2 separate regions of the Homo sapiens genome follow, and region 2 is linked to region 1. Evidence: promoter capture Hi-C in 16 types of primary human blood cells and fetal thymus (Javierre and others, 2016). All regions are on one chromosome and are shown on one strand. The core of a region is centred on a gene start or on the middle of the fragment in contact, and the rest is flanking DNA. Distances in the headings are between cores, read along the strand shown. Region 1 holds the start of CRYBG2 (crystallin beta-gamma domain containing 2). Region 2 overlaps CEP85 (centrosomal protein 85).

Region 1 (7,918 bases), core at 925-3,424:
TGAAACCTCAGTGTTCCCTTCTGCAAAATGGGGACAATAATGCTCCACTCTCAAGGCTGTTGTGGGAGATAAAGTAATGGATATGGGACATCCCGCATGGTTGGGGCCCGGACTTTCAGGAAATGTGACTTCCTAAAGCTGGGATCTTCTGGGGAGGGATGTAGGGGCAGAGGGGCCTCGCTTCTCTCCATTCTCTTCTTTGGCCTGACCGCCTTCCATCTTTGGTCCCTCTTCCCCACTTCCTGGCATGGCCCCTCAGGGGTGAGGCTGGGCTAGTGGCTTAACCTCCTGCCCCAGTTTCCTCATCTGCAGTAAGGACCTGAGCCCTGAATTGAACAGTGAAAAAGTGTTCTTCCCTTGGAGGAGTGAGGGCAGCCTCCTCTGGAGGTGGCTCAAGCAGCCATGTGTCTCTCTTGGGTCTTGAATACCATGAGTAATTGCCAGTGTTTAATTGCCTACTTGTCATGTGTTGGGCCCTCTGCATGGACTATCTTGTACCATCTGTACCACACTCTCAGGAGGCAGGTACTGTTATTATCACACCCATTTTCCACATGAGGAAACTGAAATACAAACGGTACTGCAGCTATTATAGGAAGCAGCAGGGCGGAGATTCAAGCCCAGGTTGCCTCGATCCAAGCCTCCAGGTTCATCACTGTACTCTTGTCTCTTGAGGTGGTCAGCCCCTGGGGAATGAGAGGCTGCATCTGTTTCATAGATGAGTAAATTAAGGCATTTGGCAGCAAGGATCCCTGCTAGGCGGAATTTTGACCTCCTCTGTTGCCAAGGAAACAGCCCATCTTTTAAAACGGGTCGTTTTGGGGGCAGTGTCCATCTGGGTCTGGGGTGCTGAGCCCTCTCCTCTTATCCCCACAGCCAGGCTGGACCCCAGGGGAAGACAGCAGAAGAGGTCAGGTGTTGTCCCATTTCAGGGGAACCCTCTTCTCTGGCTCCCTTATATCCCAGGTACATCCTCCCAGGTGTTCTGTCTCAAGCTGGGAGGGTACAAGAGAGGTGGCCGCAGTCTCTCTGTTAGCTTGGAATGGGCAGAGGCCATGGGCACTTGAGGCAGGCCTTCCCACCCAGCCCTCAGCCCCAGGGCGGGGAAGCACCTCAGGACTGCAAGGAAGCTGAGATCTCCAGCCTTTGGGGGGCATGGCCGGCCAGGCCCTGGGTGCCTTGTCACCTGGGAGGGAGTGCGGCACCTGAGCGTTGGGAGCCCTCGCTGGCTTGCTGTGTGATCTCAGTCATGTCGCCGTCTTCTTTGGGCCCCACTTTCCTCTTACGTAGAATGGGAAGGGGTGAGTTAAATGCTGAAGGGCCTTCCCAGAGCTCTGTCCCTTTGTCCAGCTCTGGTGGCCTTAGCAGCCTCTCCCTAGGGCAGCTTACCTTGGTGTCAGAGCCCTGTTCAGCTTCCTTGTGACAGGGAAGATACCAGGTACCAGGGGTGCCTGGAGGGCAGGGGGAGCTGTCACTATGCCCCTGCCTCTCTCAGTGTCTATCTCTGTTTTCACCCAGGCCCAAGGCCAGAGCTGCTCAGAATGGGACATCCATGTAGGGGACCATGATGATTTCTGGATTTGGAAGCAACAAGGAATCTCGGGGGGTCCTGCTCAGTCCCTGGGGCGCCTACAGAGGCCAGCGGTGGGCAGCGCCTTCGACCTGGCCAGCCATGCCTCCCTGGGGCCTGAGAGCCTGGCCCTGGAAGTGGCCTCAGGAGAGTCTGCTCGTACCAGGCTCCCCCAATACCCAGGGCCTGCTCCTGGACATGGGGAGCAGGGATCCTCAGGCTGCACCTGTCAGCAGTCTCCACCCACAGCTTCAGAGGTCCCTCTGAGGCCTGAGCCACCCAGCAACCTGGAAGACGCACCCCTGCTGCTCCACCCTGCATCCTTCCCCAGGGCAGAGGGGACAAAGGGCAAGCCCGCCACCCCAGGGACTGCCTTGCCAGAGCCTGCCCAGACCCTACACACGCGTCCCTCTTCCAGGAGGACCCGCTACTACATCACTGTCACCCTGCTGGGGCACAGGCAAGCACCAGGGGAGGAGGGTGAAGAACCGGCCCAACCAGCTCCACACCTCTGCGGCCCTGAGGAATCTGAGGGCTGGTGGGAGCCTCCCCAGGGGCCACGCCCCATCACAGGGTGCCGGACGGCCCCGCCTCAGGAACCCCAGCTGAGAGCCCAATCGCATCAGGGGAGCACGGCCCAGCAGCAGGAGCTCCAGGCTGGCTGGACACCTGGGTCCCCACGCAGACTGTGAGTAGAGGTCGGTCTGTGTGTGGAGATGGGAGGGGAGACTGGCCTGGCTGCCCTGTCTTGAGACTTTGCCTATTCCCTGGGCCTCTCCAGCTCTAGGCCCATTCATTCAGGACCCTGAGCCGACTCTGCCTTCCCTCCCTGCTCCAACCCTGCCTTCCTCTCCCTCCCTTTGCCCACAGGCTACCTCCTGGAACCCACTGCTTCTCACCCCCACTGTCCATCTGAGAAAGGGGAAAGTCTGTCAGGGAGAGGATGGGCAGGAAGGGGGGTTGCCTTCTTCACAGCATACACCACTCCCCAGTTCTGTTCAGGAGGCCACAGACTCAGCCTGGGAATTGGCACCCAGCCTAGGTGCTGGGTGTCCTGAGGCGAGTTGCTTAACCTCTCTGGGCCTTGAGTTGTTGAGAGGATTTGGTAGCTGAAAATGAGGAAGGAGGAGGTGGCTACAGGAATATACTTTGAACTCCAGAGACTGGGGGTGCCAAAATAGCAGGGATGCTTATTAATTACGTCTCAGTGACAGCAATAATTACCCCACCTGGCTCTGAGCTGGAAGCCAAAGGAGTGGGTGTCGAGTTTCCCAAGCCTAGTTTTATTTGTGTTGAAATGACTCTCCTAAATCTGCCTGGGGGGCGCAGAGGTGGAAGGATATGTCCCCCAAAGCTCATCAAGGAGGGATGAACATGGAACCTCCCAGGGATGACCCTGAAGAGGAAATGAGCCTGGGGTGGGGTTTTGAAGGGTGCTTAAGGATGATGGGGTGGCTGTCATTTGCAATTTGTTTTCTAAGCATAATTTTATTTAATCTTCCCAACCATCCCATGAGTAGGGACTGATCCCAACCCCTGTCACCTAATTCTAGGAGGCTCTGAAAGTCACTTGCTCAAAGTCAACTAGAAAGTGAAGGGGCTAGAATCTGAACTTAGGTTTCTATAACTCCAGTGCCTGTGCTCTAACCACTGCTCCATCCTGCCTGGAAGAAACCTCTTTGGCCCTGTGCAGAGAGTGGAGGGTTGAGTGAGGTTGCTGTGTGGGCTCCAGGGTTTTCTAGGCTCCTATGGCGGTGGATTGGGCAGCATTGTAGTAGCAGAGGCAGAATCAGGAATGCTGGGGTCCTCCAAGCAGGGGTCAATGTGACTGCTTCCGTGCCAAGGAAGAGGGAGATGTAGGACCCAGGCTGGCTCTGAGACCTGCTTGGATGCCCCAGAAGTCAGGGGCTGGGGGACAAGGGCTGCAGAGAGAGGGAAGGGGGGTGGAGGAGGCTACCTTGGAGAGGGGGACGGGAAAGAGAAGTAGGGTTAGCTGGGGGGAGGTGGTTTCTATCTGCCACTACCTGGGTATTTTGGGCCCAGGTGGATAATGACAGACTCAGGTGGGAGGCTAGGGCTCACTTAGAGTGGGGGGCAGGTGACCTCCAGAAACATCATCCTTCTATGTCCCCTTCCTGGGAGAAGGTTCTCTGGGCCAAGATTGGCAAATATGGGAGTCGAGAAGAAGTGAGACATAGCTGGGACTGCCAGTGGGAATGTGTAAGATACGTGTGCATCCAAGCGTGTGTGTCCACGTTCAGGGGTAGGTGAATTTCAAGGGGAAGAGAGCTTGGGGCTGTGAATTGACTGTGTGTGTATTGTGAATGTGTGCACGTGTGTGTCACTGTGCCTGTGTTTCTGTCTGTATGTGATTTGTGTGTCTGTTGTGGCTCTGAGTGCCTGTGCGTGTTTGTATTTCTTGGGTGAGTGTATATTTGTGTGTGTGTCCCTGGTTGTGTATGTTTTTATAGGCTTCTAGGTGTATCTTTGTGCCTGTGTGATTGTGGGTCTGTGTCGGTATCTGTCTGTGTGTCTGTGCCTGCGTCTGTGTGACACAGCATGTGTTTGCCTGCATGTGGGCCTGTGGACTGGTTTGGCCTAGTTTGGGGGTGACTCACAGGTAAGTGGGGAGAATCCAGGACTTGTTGGGTTAGACAAGGCTCTTTCCCACACTCCCCCCGCCCCCTCCTCAGCCTCTCCCTTCCCAGCTCCACACGCCTTGTTTGGAGGTCACAGGTCACGCTGCCAACAAATCCACTTCTGGTCTGGGGCCCTGCAGAAGAAAGGGCTCTGGGAATGGCCCCTTCTGCTGGCCCAGGAGAGGCATCCTGGGTCATTGTATTGGGGTATGTCTTCAGAGCAAGGACAAAAGGGGGCATCTATAGGCAGGCACATTCCAGCAGAGTCTGAAGGACATTCTAGCACTCATGACTGTTCAGGGACGGGGCAGGTGAACTGTCGAGTGGTGACCTCCCTGTCCCTGGAGGTATGCAGGCAGAAGCCAATGACCACATGCTTGTGGAATGACTGGCTATCAGGGGTGTTGTCCAGGGGTTGGGCTGGTTGAGAAAGACGTTAAATTCTGATTGGTAGGAGGTCATCGACAATATCTGATCTCATGATCGGCCGCCTCCTTTAACATTGCTCTCCTGTCGCTTTCCTGATGCCTATGGCGCTTTCCAAATGTCCCTGTTTTTATGTCTAATTCCTTGGCCCCTGGCTTCTTAATATGCCACCTTTCATGAGAAAGTTGGCTCTGGTTCTGGTTGAGTCTAGCCAAGGCCTAGCACATCCCTTGATACAATTAGCACTGAATGAGTGAGTAATTGAATGAATGAATGAATGAGTTAGAGCTCAAGCTTTGCCACTTACTATAAGCACCATCAGAGACAAGGAAGCTCGGAGAGTGGAAGGCAGGTGGACAGGGGCTTAGGAGGTGCTCAGCGAGGGCGTCAAACTTCATTTGGGCAGAGTCCCAGCGAGGAGGGCAGGGGTTGCATGAGGAAAAAGGGAGCTCCCTAATGGGGACAGGGGAGTGGGCTGGGGCCTCAGTGAGAGGCTAAAATCCAGAGCCTTTGGTGTCTGGCTGTGTACTGCTCTCAGGAAGCCCTGGCCTGGGAAAATGACCAGGGCTCTACCTAACCCCTCCACCTTCCAGTCCCCCTTGGACCCTGTCCCTGACACTGTCATAGCCACCAGCAGTCCTGGAGTCAGGTCAGGCTTCCCGGGGCTTCAGTCTCTTTCATCTCTGCCCCTCATAAAGCCTGAGTCACTGCTGTGGCCACAGGGAAGGGTCAAAGTTCTGAATTCCACCAGCTTCTCAGGAAGGAGGACAATGGGAAATGGGGGAGGGGAGTGGGGGCAGTGGGTCCATTTCCTGCCCAGAGTCAGGTCTCTTGGGGAGGGGAGGGTACCTCATGGAGAAGGCCCAAAGACTCGGGCTGAACAGGCTGGCCTCTCTGGGGTTCGTGGGGCCTAAGAATAGGATTGCCCTGGTCAGTGTAGCTTGGAAGTCAGGGAGTGGGGGTGGAGACGCCCTCCAGGACTGACATGGCTCCCTGTAAATGTAAACCCCCAAACCAGAGACTCAGTTATAGGATACATATATTAGGGAGTTTGGTATGGTGAGTGAGCACTTAGGGTTGGGGTTCAAGTCTTGTTTCGGTTACTCTGTGACTTTGGACAAGTTTCTTAACCTCTCTGAGCATTTAAAAAATCTCATCTGCAAAATGGGAAGGTATGATCTAATTTATTAATAATTTATTCTTTATGAGGTCTCAAGCTCCTGGGATTCTTCTGAGGCTTCAATGGGACAATGAATCTAAAGCACTTAGCAAGGTGTTTGGCAGAGTCAGCCCTCCCCAAATGGCTGTTTTTGTTGTTGTTGCAACTAGTAAAACAGAGAAATTCACCTGAGAGTTCCTAGGGAGCTTAGTCTATTTTCTGTTGCTTATAATGGAATACCTGAACCTGGAAGCCCAAGGTCAAGGGGGTGCATCTGGTAAGAACCTTGTTGGTGATTCTCTGCAGAGTCCCGAGGGGGCTCAGAGCATCACATGGCAGTGGGGCTGAGGTGCTAGTTCAGGTGTCCCTTCCTCTTCCTATAAAACCACTGGTCCGGTCAGGCACAATGGCTCACACCTGTAATCCCAGCACTGTGGGAGGCGGAGGTGGGCAGATCTCTTAGGCTCAGGAGTTTGAGACCAGACTGGGCAACATAGTGAAACCCCAACTCTACAAAAAATACAAAAATTAGCCAGGCATAGCGGTGCAGGCTTGTAGTCCCAGCTACTCGGTGGGCTGAGGTGGGAGGACTGTTTGGGCCCAGGAGGCAGAGGTTGCAGTAAGCTGAGATTGTGCCACTGCACTCCAGCCTGGGCAACAGAGCAAAACCCTGTCTCAAAAAAAAAAAAAAAAAAAAAAAGCCTCTAGTCCTACTCCCATGATCACTCATTAATCCATTAAACCATTAATCTATTAATCCATGAGTATATTAATCCATTCATGAGGCATAGCCCTCATAACCCAATCACTGCTTAGAGGCCCCACCTCTCAATATTACCACATTGGGGATTAAGTTTCAACATGAGTTTTGGAGGGGACAAATATTCAAGCCATAGCAGAAGCTTAGAAGGTCTTCTTTGGCAGGTGTTAATATTATCCTACATTTAGTAAGGGAGGCTATGGAGACCCAGAGAGATCAAGGAAGAGTCAGAAAAGAAACAAGACCCAGGCCCCACCCCTCCAGGACGGAGGGTGAGACATGCTCTGCTGAGGATGATCACAGGAGCAGCTGGACATGCCCCAGAGCTGTGGCCTGGGGGTAGGAGGGAGGATGCCTGGATGTGAAATCAGAAGATGGGAATTTAAATCCCTGCTTGACAACCTCATAGCCGCGTCATCCTGGGCCAGTCACTCGTCTTCTCTGACCCTCGGTTTCTTAACCTTCAGTAGGGAAAAAATCACAGAGGACAGAATCGAGGGAAGAGTGCCTTGTAAAGCCCAAGTGCCCTAACGGAGCCAAGGGGCTCCATTTATTTACTTTTTTTTTAAAATTTTAATTTTGAGACAGAGTCTCGCTCTGTTGCCCAGGCTGGAGTGCAGAGGCGTGATCTCAGCTCACTGCAACCTCCGCCCCCCAGGTTCAAGCGATTCTCCTACCTCAGCTTCCCAAGTAGCTGGGATTACAGGTGCCCACCACCATGCCTGGATAATATTTTTATTTTTAGTAGAGACTAGGTTTCATCACGTTAGTCAGGCTGGTCTCGAACTCCTGACCTCAGGTGATCGGCCTGCCTCGGCCTCCCAAAGTGCTGGGATTACAGGCGTGAGCCACCGCACCCAGCCTTATTTTTGTTTTTATTAAAAACTTTTTTTAGGCCGGGCGCAGTGGCTCACGTCTATAATCCCAGCACTTTGGGAGGCCAAGGCGGGTGGATCACTTGAGGTCAGGAGTTTGAGACCAGCCTGGGCAACATAGTGAAACCCCATCTCTACTAAAAATACAAAAATTAGCTGGGCATGGTGGCACATGCCTGTAATCCCAGCTACTCGGGAGGCTGAGGCAGGAGAATCGCTTGAACCTGGGAGGAGGAGGTTGCAGTAGGCTGAGATCGTGCCACTGCACTCCAGCCTGGGCGACAGAGCGAGACTCTGTCTCAAAAAATAATGATAACTTTTCTTAGCGATAAGATCTCTCTGTCACTCAGGCTGGAGTGCAGTGACACGATCATAGCTCATTGCAGCCTGGGCTCAAGTGATCCTCCCACCTCAGCCTCCAGGGTAGCTAGGGCTACAGGCACACACCACCATGCTGGCTAATTCTTTTAATTTTTTGTAGAGACTTGT
Region 2 (7,918 bases), core at 1,651-4,150, 100 kb after region 1:
CAATTACCAACTCTATGACCCCGTACAGATTATGTAGTCTAAGAACCTGGTAAGTTTCTACATCTACCTCGTTAGTACACTATGAAGATTAAATAAAATGCTGTATGTGAAAGTACTTAGCCTAGTGACGTATAAATACGTTTTTAGGTTTTCCTTTGTAACCTTTTGCTATTTTGGAGACCCTATCTGGTGCTTAATTTGACTACCAAACAGATTCAATGGCCAACAGCTCACAAGCCTGTATTTCCTGTCTACAAACATCTTCCTTCTTTTTACAGCTATTTTCTTTAAGCCAAAATTCAAAGGACAAAAGCTATTACAATTCTAAGAACTGTACAGAACCTAGAAAATCCAAGGAAAGATAGACCTCTACCTGCATTTGCTCCATCTGTAAACGAATCAATTCCAGCTGCTGCCGACAAGTGCTGAGTTCACAAGATTGCTCTCGGGGATGCCAAGTGTCAGGACTCGGCTGCCACACCTGAGAGGGCAGAGGCTTGGAGAGCCCGGGAGCAGGCTGGAGTCCCAAAGGGAGGACCCCACTGCTATTAGAATGTGGTCCATTCCGCTCAAACACTGCCCCGCTGCCCGGTGCCTTCTTGGCCTCAGGCAACACTCTGTACAACTCCTTACTTGTGCTGGTTCTTGGGTTGTGGAAGCGGACTCGGTGGTGAGGATCTGAATAAAGTGTCTCCATCATTGCCGACTGATTGAGGGTAGATTCCATGCTAGGAATATCAAACTTCCTCGCCTCTTCTTGTCTTTCATGGCCCACTGCTGGAAACCAGGACTGCTCAATTCCATTTTCTCCAGTAGCACCAGAGAAATACATGAGATCTCTAGATAGGCCTGGAGAATGTTTCATTGCACCGAGGTCTCCATTTCTTGTCATTCCCACACTTTCAGCCAACCCTGACAAAGGGAGTTTAGAGGAAGAGGGTCCAACAGGTGTAGAATTTGGCTTGGCAGGAGAGGTCCCTAAAGTAGAAGGCATCACATGGGCTGTTGGAATGGTTACGTGGCTTTTGATGGGCTGGAAAGGAGGACTGCCACTTGAGCTGCAAAAATCTGGGGAGAGAATAGTCTTCCATAAGTAAAAATTGAAGTAGCAAGCTTTCTTGAGTTTGAATGCTATGCCAGAAGCTCTCGGCCTGTCCTGAGACCAAGCAGAGAGAGCACCATCATCAAAAGTATCAGGCAGAAAGAAACGGCAACCAAACTGGGAGATGTATGTTCCAGGATCTCAAATGCCATTCACAAGGTAAACTAACAAAAGGCAATAATGACTTCACTTTTAACTTAGTCCTTTGTACTGGAATAAAAAAAATCTTGTCAGTCAACAGACAAAGCTGAAAAACTTTTAAAAAGTTTTTTAAAAAATTTAAACTTTAAAACAAATTACTTACTTAAGGAAAATGAGTTAGGTCCTACTCTTCTGGAAGCTGGACAACTCTCAGCTATAATCAAATCTAATAAAAATATCCTTTCCAAGAGTCACCAGAATCTTCTGCGACCTCCAAAAGCTCCCCCAGGAAGGTGAGCAACGAGTCCAAACTATCTGAAGAATGAAGCGAACTAGACAGTCTTGCTCAGTATGCAGGACAGGGAGTATGGCATCTGAGGCAGGATTCTGTTCTCTCTCCCATACCCCAAACCTGACTGCCTGGATATGTGAAGTTATTCTTAGTAACTCTCAGGTTTCACTCTAGCACAGTGAGCACTCTCAATTGGGTACACACTGAAATCCTCTATTTTATATTTTGCCTTTCACTTGCCCCCTTGTGTGTACCCAACTGTGTTTTTTTTTTTTTAACTTTTCCTTCAGACTGAATTTGTGTTTCCTTTGGCTCCTGCCTGGTCTTGGGAGACAACCCTTGATTAGCCCTACTATACAAGGTTCACATTTCTACCTATTTCCAACTTTCAAGTACTACTCTGAGGGGGACTACTGCAAGCAAACAATAAGGGAGGAATGTGAGGTAACATACTTATTGCTTTCAGCAGGCAGAAAACTGAATAAGGAAATAAGGAATACCAATTTCTTCTCTTTTCAACTATATTCAGTACTCGTTCCCAAATCAAGCATATCTACCACGGAGAAGAGCGACTACCAACTTGTTTCTTTTTCTCCCCAGCAACCAACACAGAGAACACTCAGATAACAACAACAAATACTATAATTGTTCCCAGAATTATGTAAGTATAGATCAGCTACGACCTTCTCATTAAACAACTTTTTTTTTTGAAATGGGGTCTCACTCTGTCACCCAGGCTGGAGCACAGTGGCGTGATCACAGTTCACTGCAGCCTCGACCTCCCCAGGCTCAGGTGATCTTCCCACCTCAGTTTTTGTATTTTTAGGAGAGATGGGGTTTCGCCATGTTGCCCAGACTGGTCTCGAACTCATGGGCTCAAGTGATCCACCTGCCTCAGCCTCCCAAAGTGCTAGGATTACAGGTGTGAGCCACCATGCCCGGCCTTAAGCAACTCTTTAAAAATATGGGCAAGCCACCTCACACCTGTCAGAATGGCTATGATGAAAAAGATGAGGCCGGGCGCAGTGGCTCATGCCTGTAATCCCCAGCACTTTGGGAGGCTGAGGAGGGGGGATCATGAGGTCAGGAGATCGAAACCATCCTGGCTAACACGGTGAAACCCTGTCTCTACTAAAAATACAAAATATTAGCCAGGTATGGTGGCACGCGCCTGTAGTCCCAGCTATTCGGGAGGCTGAGGCAGGAGGATCGCTTGAACCCAGGAGGTGGAGGTTGCAATGAGCCAGGATCGCACTACTGCACTCCAGCCTGGGCGACAGAGTGAGACTCCATCTCAAAAAAAAAAAAAAAAAGATGAAAGATAACAAGTTTGGAGAGGATGCAGAGAAAAGGGAACTCTAGTACACAGTTGGGGGGAATGTAACACAGCCACTGTGGAAAACAATGGAGTATGTAGCTCCTCAAAAAACTAAAAATAGTTACCATATGATCCAGCAATCCACTTCTGGGTATATATCCAAACGATATGAAATATGTATGTCCAAGAGATATCTACAATCCCATGTTTACTGAGTAATTATTCACAATAGCCAAGTTATAGAATCAACAGACGAACAGATAAGGAAAATGCAGTATATTACACAACGGAATACCAGCCTTATAAAAGATGTCAATTGTGTCACTTGCAACAACATGGATGAAACTGGAGGACACTAAGAGAAATAAGCCAGGCACAAAATGACAAATACTGCACGTTCTTACTTATATGTGGAAGCTAAAAAAAACCTCGACACATAGAAACAGAGAGAATAATTGTGGTTACCAGAAGCTGGGAGCAGGGGGAATCGAGAGATGCTGATCAAAGGGTAAAACATTTCGGTTAGACAGGAGGAATAAATACTTTAAAAAAAGACGTGCAAGCCTTATATTACATGCATAGTATCTAATTTGCTATACTGAAGATGATCTTGGGGATATATAAAAGGCCACACTAAAAAAACACACACACACGTAACAAAACAAAAACCTGAATAAGTTCTGATAACATGCATTAGTCTCTCAGGACCAAGAAAGAAATTTCTCAGTTAAAGGACCCAGTTTCTGATGTCTCACAACTTAAATATAGGACTAGTACACAAGGTTAAGGCAGACTGCTAGTGATAAAGACTTCAAAGACTAGTAAGCAATACAATTTTTTGTTTTATTTTTTGGAGCCGGAATTTCACTCTTGTTGCCCAGGCTGGAGTGCAATGGCGCGATCTTGGCTCACCACAACCTCCTCCTCCTGGGTTCAAGCGATTCTCCTGCCTCAGCCTCCCAAGTAGCTGGGATTAAAGGCATGCTCCACCACGCCCGGCTAATTTTGTATTTTTAGTAGAGACAGGGCTTCTCCATGCTGGTCAGGCTGGTCTTGAACTCCCAACCTCAGGTGATCCGCCCGCCTCGGCCTCCCAAAGTGCTGGGATTACAGGTGTGAGCCACTGCCCCCGGCCCAATTTTTTCTTTTTTGAGATGGGGTCTCACTCACTCTGTTGTCCAGGCTGGAGTGCAGTGGCACGATCTTGGCTCACCGCAACCTCTGCCTCCTGGGTTCAAGCGACTCTTCTGCCTCAGCCTCTCGAGTAGCTGGGATTACAGGAGCCCGCCACCATGCCTGGCTAATTTTTGTATTTTTAGTAGACGGGGTTTCACCATGTTGGCCAGGCTGGTCTTGAATTCCTAACCTCAAGTGATTCACCTGTCTCGGCCTCCCAAAGTGCTGGGATTACAGGGATGAGCCACCGTGCTTAACCATAAGCAATATGTTTTAAATCCTCCATAACAGCACCATAGTTATCAGTTCTTACCAAGGGTCACTGCTCCCACGGTGTAATTACAAAACAGAAGACTGTGAGGTTGTAGCACATGAGGGGTTGCTACCATGAACTTTGCAATACCTCCTTCCAGTCTCCATCCATAGCACCACTCTCTCTAGATTCACCAAATTCAGTTTTGAGCCCACACCCCCTGCTGTGGTTTGAAAGTGTCTGTCCCCCAAAAGTTCATGTGTTGGAAACTTAATTGCCAATGTAACAGTATTAAGAGGTGGGGGCCTCTAAGAGGTGACTGGGTCATGAGGGTAGAAGCCTCATAATAGATTAGCAGAAGTGAGTTAGTTCTCAAAGCAGTGGGTTGTTATAAAAGCAAGCTTGGGGCCGGGCATGGTGGCTCATGCCTGTAATCCCAGCACTTTGGGAGGCTGAGGTGGGCGGATCACCTGAGGTCCGGAGTTTGAGACCAGCCTGATCAACGTGGAGAAACCCTGTCTCCACTAAAAATACAAGATTAGCTGGGCGTGGTGACGCATGCCTGTAGTCCCAGCTTCTCAGGAGGCTGAGGCAGGAGAATCGCCTGAAACCGGGAGGCAGACGTTGCAGTGAGCCGAGATTGCACCATTGCACTCCAGCCTGGGCAACAAGAGCTAAACTCCACCTCAAAAAAAAAAAAAAAAACCAAGCTTGGGTTGGGCACGGTGGTTTATGCCTGTAATCCTAGCACTTTGGGAGGCAGAGGCAAGCGGATCATTTGAGGTCAGGAGTTCAAGGCCAGCCTGGCTAACATGGTGAAACCCCATCTCTACTAAAAATACAAAAATTAGCTGGGCATGATGGCGGGTGCCTGTAATCCCAGCTACTCGGGAGGCTGAGGCAGGAGAAATCACTTGAACATGGGAGGCGGAAGCTGCAGTGAGCCAAGATCCCACCACTGCACTCCAGCCTGAGTGACAGAAATAAGACTCTGTCTCAAAAAAAAAAAAAAAAAAAAAAAAAAGAAAAAAGAAAAAAAAAAGGCAAGCTTGGCTCACTCTAGTGGTCTCTGCTTTTCCACCATGTTATGATACAGCACAAAAGCCTTCGCCAGATGCTGCCACTATGCCTTTGGACTTCTCACTCTCCAGAACCCTGGGCAAAATAAACATCTTTTCTGTATAAGTTACACTGTCTCAGGTATTCTCTTACAGTAACAGAAAATACACTAAGATAACCCCAAAATAATGCCAAAACCAAAGCCAAGAAGAAAAGTACCAACTGACCCAGAAGAATATGGCTTTTCTAATTTTTTATAGATGATAAATGGACATATTAGAAAATTAAGGTGAGGTCTTTGTCCACATTTTTAACTTATCTATTGGGTTTATCTATTTATATTAAGTAAACTGCCTGATTCAGACTAACTGTGCTATGAAATGTAAAGTTACACCAGCGGTTCCCAACCTTTTTGTTACCAGGGAATCGTTTTGTGGAACACAATTTTTCCACAGACGATGGTTGGGGGGATGGTTTCAGGATGAAACTGTTCCACCTCAGATCATCAGGCATTAGATTCTCGTAAGGACTGAGCAACCTAGATCCCTCACATGCACAGTTCACAATAGGGTTCGTGCTCCTATGAGAATCTAATGTCACCACTGATCTGACAGAAGGCGCAAGCTCAGGCAGTAATGCTTGCTCGCCTGCTGCTCACCTCCAGCTGTGTGGCCTGGTTCCTAATATGCCATGGACTGGTACTGGTCCACGGGCCAGGAGTTGGGGACCTCTGAGTTACACCGTAAGTCTGGTCTGTGGTTTAGAATATTTTGAAATGAAATAGCAACACTCATTTTCAAAGGGACCTCTATCTTCTACAATTTTCAAAGGCATTCAAAATTTAGTGTATGGGAACCAGGCAGGTGGTGCATCTCTGTAGGCCCAGCTACTCAGTAGTCTAACTCAGGAGGATTACTTGAGCCCCACCGAGTTCATGGCTATAGTACACTATGATGGTACCTGTGTGAACAGTCATTGCACTCCAGTGTAGGCAACACAGTGAGATCCATCTCTTTAAAAAATACAATGCATGGGATATGTGATTTTTATTTACAGAAATCTACAGTTCCCAAAAACTTTGGGGTTTTGCCATTTTAAGAATATAGTTCTAAATCTCTCCCCTACTTAACCACATTTTATGACCCCTCCCCACCCTAAAAAACAACTCATTTTTGAGCAAACTTCCTTTCACAGTAAGGGTAGATTCAGCTATTACCAAATCTCAGTCACTTCAGTCTACACCTGAAGTGATTCAGTAGCCTGAATTACACCAGTGACTATTTCAGTCTTTTGCAAAGAGCTGAAAGCATTCTGAACTCTTCAGTACCCACCTCTACTCTGTCCCTCGAGAATCTTTCAAGGTAAAACACCTTAGTGAAGAAGGGTGGAATCAAAAGCATGCCTATTAAATTTAAAGATGCAACAATGAACTATACTGTATACCAGTCACAGGGGTTCTTGTCAACTAGACCGCAAGCTAGATTCATGAACAAAATGTGTAAGAGTTAAGATTAGAGGCCAGGAGCAGTGGCTCACGCCTATAATCCCAACACTTTGAGAGGCCAAGGTGAGTGGATCAGCTGAGGTCAGGACTTCGAGACCAGTCTGGCCAACAAGGTGAAACCCCGTCTTTACTAAAAATACAAAAATTAGCTGGGTGTGGTGGCACACGCCTGTAATCCCAACTACTCAGAAGGCTGAGGCAGAAGAATCGCTTGAACCCGGGAGGCGGAGGTTGCAGTGAGCCAAGATCATGCCACTGCACTCCAGCCTGGGTGACAGAGTGAGACTCCGTCTCAAAACAAACACACAAAAAGAGTTAAGATTAGGATCATGGTATGTAACAAACATAGCAGTTTAAAAAATGTCTAGGCCTGGGCGTGGTGGCTCACGCCTGTAATCCCAGCACTTTGAGAAGCCGAGGTGGGCAGATCGTGAGGTCAGGAGATCGAGACCATTCTGGCTAACACGGTGAAACCCCGTCTCTACTAAAAATACAAAAAATTAGCCGGGCGTAGTGGCGGGTGCCTGTAGTACCAGCTACTTGGGAGGCTGAGGCAGGAGAATGGCATTAACCCGGAAGGCGGAGCTTGCAGTGAGCCGAGATTGCCCCACTGCACTCCAGCCTGGGCAACAGAGCGAGACTCGGTCTCAAAAAAAAAAAAAAAAAAAAAAGAGTTCAAGACCCAGACTGGCCAACATGGTGAAACCCCATCTCTACTAAAAATACAAAAATTAGCCAGGCATGGTGGTACACGCCTGTAATCCCAGTTACTCGGGAGGCTGAAAGAGGAGAATCGCTTGAACCCAGGAGGTGGAGGTTACAGTGAGCCGAGATTGGGCCACTGCACTCCAGCCTGGGCGACAGAGCGACTCTGTCTCGAAAAAATAAGAAGAAGTAAAAAAAACTTCTAGACCAATATCTTTGACCCCTATCTCGAGAAGACTATTACAACTTTTAAAAAATGCACTAGAATGTAAGTTATTTTCCCAAAAGAATAAAAAAGAGAGTCACACACACAATCTGTGTAGCAATGTAACTGAATTAAATACAGCTGGTCATTTCAATGGGGGAAA

Evidence for each region. The method cuts DNA at HindIII sites, captures the fragments that hold promoters and counts their contacts. A CHiCAGO score of 5 or more calls a contact.
Region 2: a contact is called between a fragment that was not itself captured here and the fragment with the promoter of CRYBG2 in region 1, in 1 of 17 cell types (naive B cells). The highest score is 5.1, in naive B cells.

What each region holds. Positions count from the first base shown.
Region 1 is chr1:26,348,386-26,356,303 of GRCh38, reverse strand. It overlaps CRYBG2 (crystallin beta-gamma domain containing 2), which reads left to right and starts at 2,174. Exons shown (of 20, transcript NM_001039775.4): 1 at 2,174-2,268. RefSeq lists a silencer at 4,675-4,873 and an enhancer at 6,089-6,935. The HindIII fragment of the contact is 7,544 bases long and covers 1-4,931 here.
Region 2 is chr1:26,248,321-26,256,238 of GRCh38, reverse strand. CEP85 (centrosomal protein 85) reads right to left here. Exons shown (of 14, transcript NM_001319944.2): 4 at 374-1,068. Among named protein-coding and RNA genes, the nearest start is that of CEP85, 18 kb to the right of the region's middle. The HindIII fragment of the contact is 3,570 bases long and covers 1,116-4,685 here.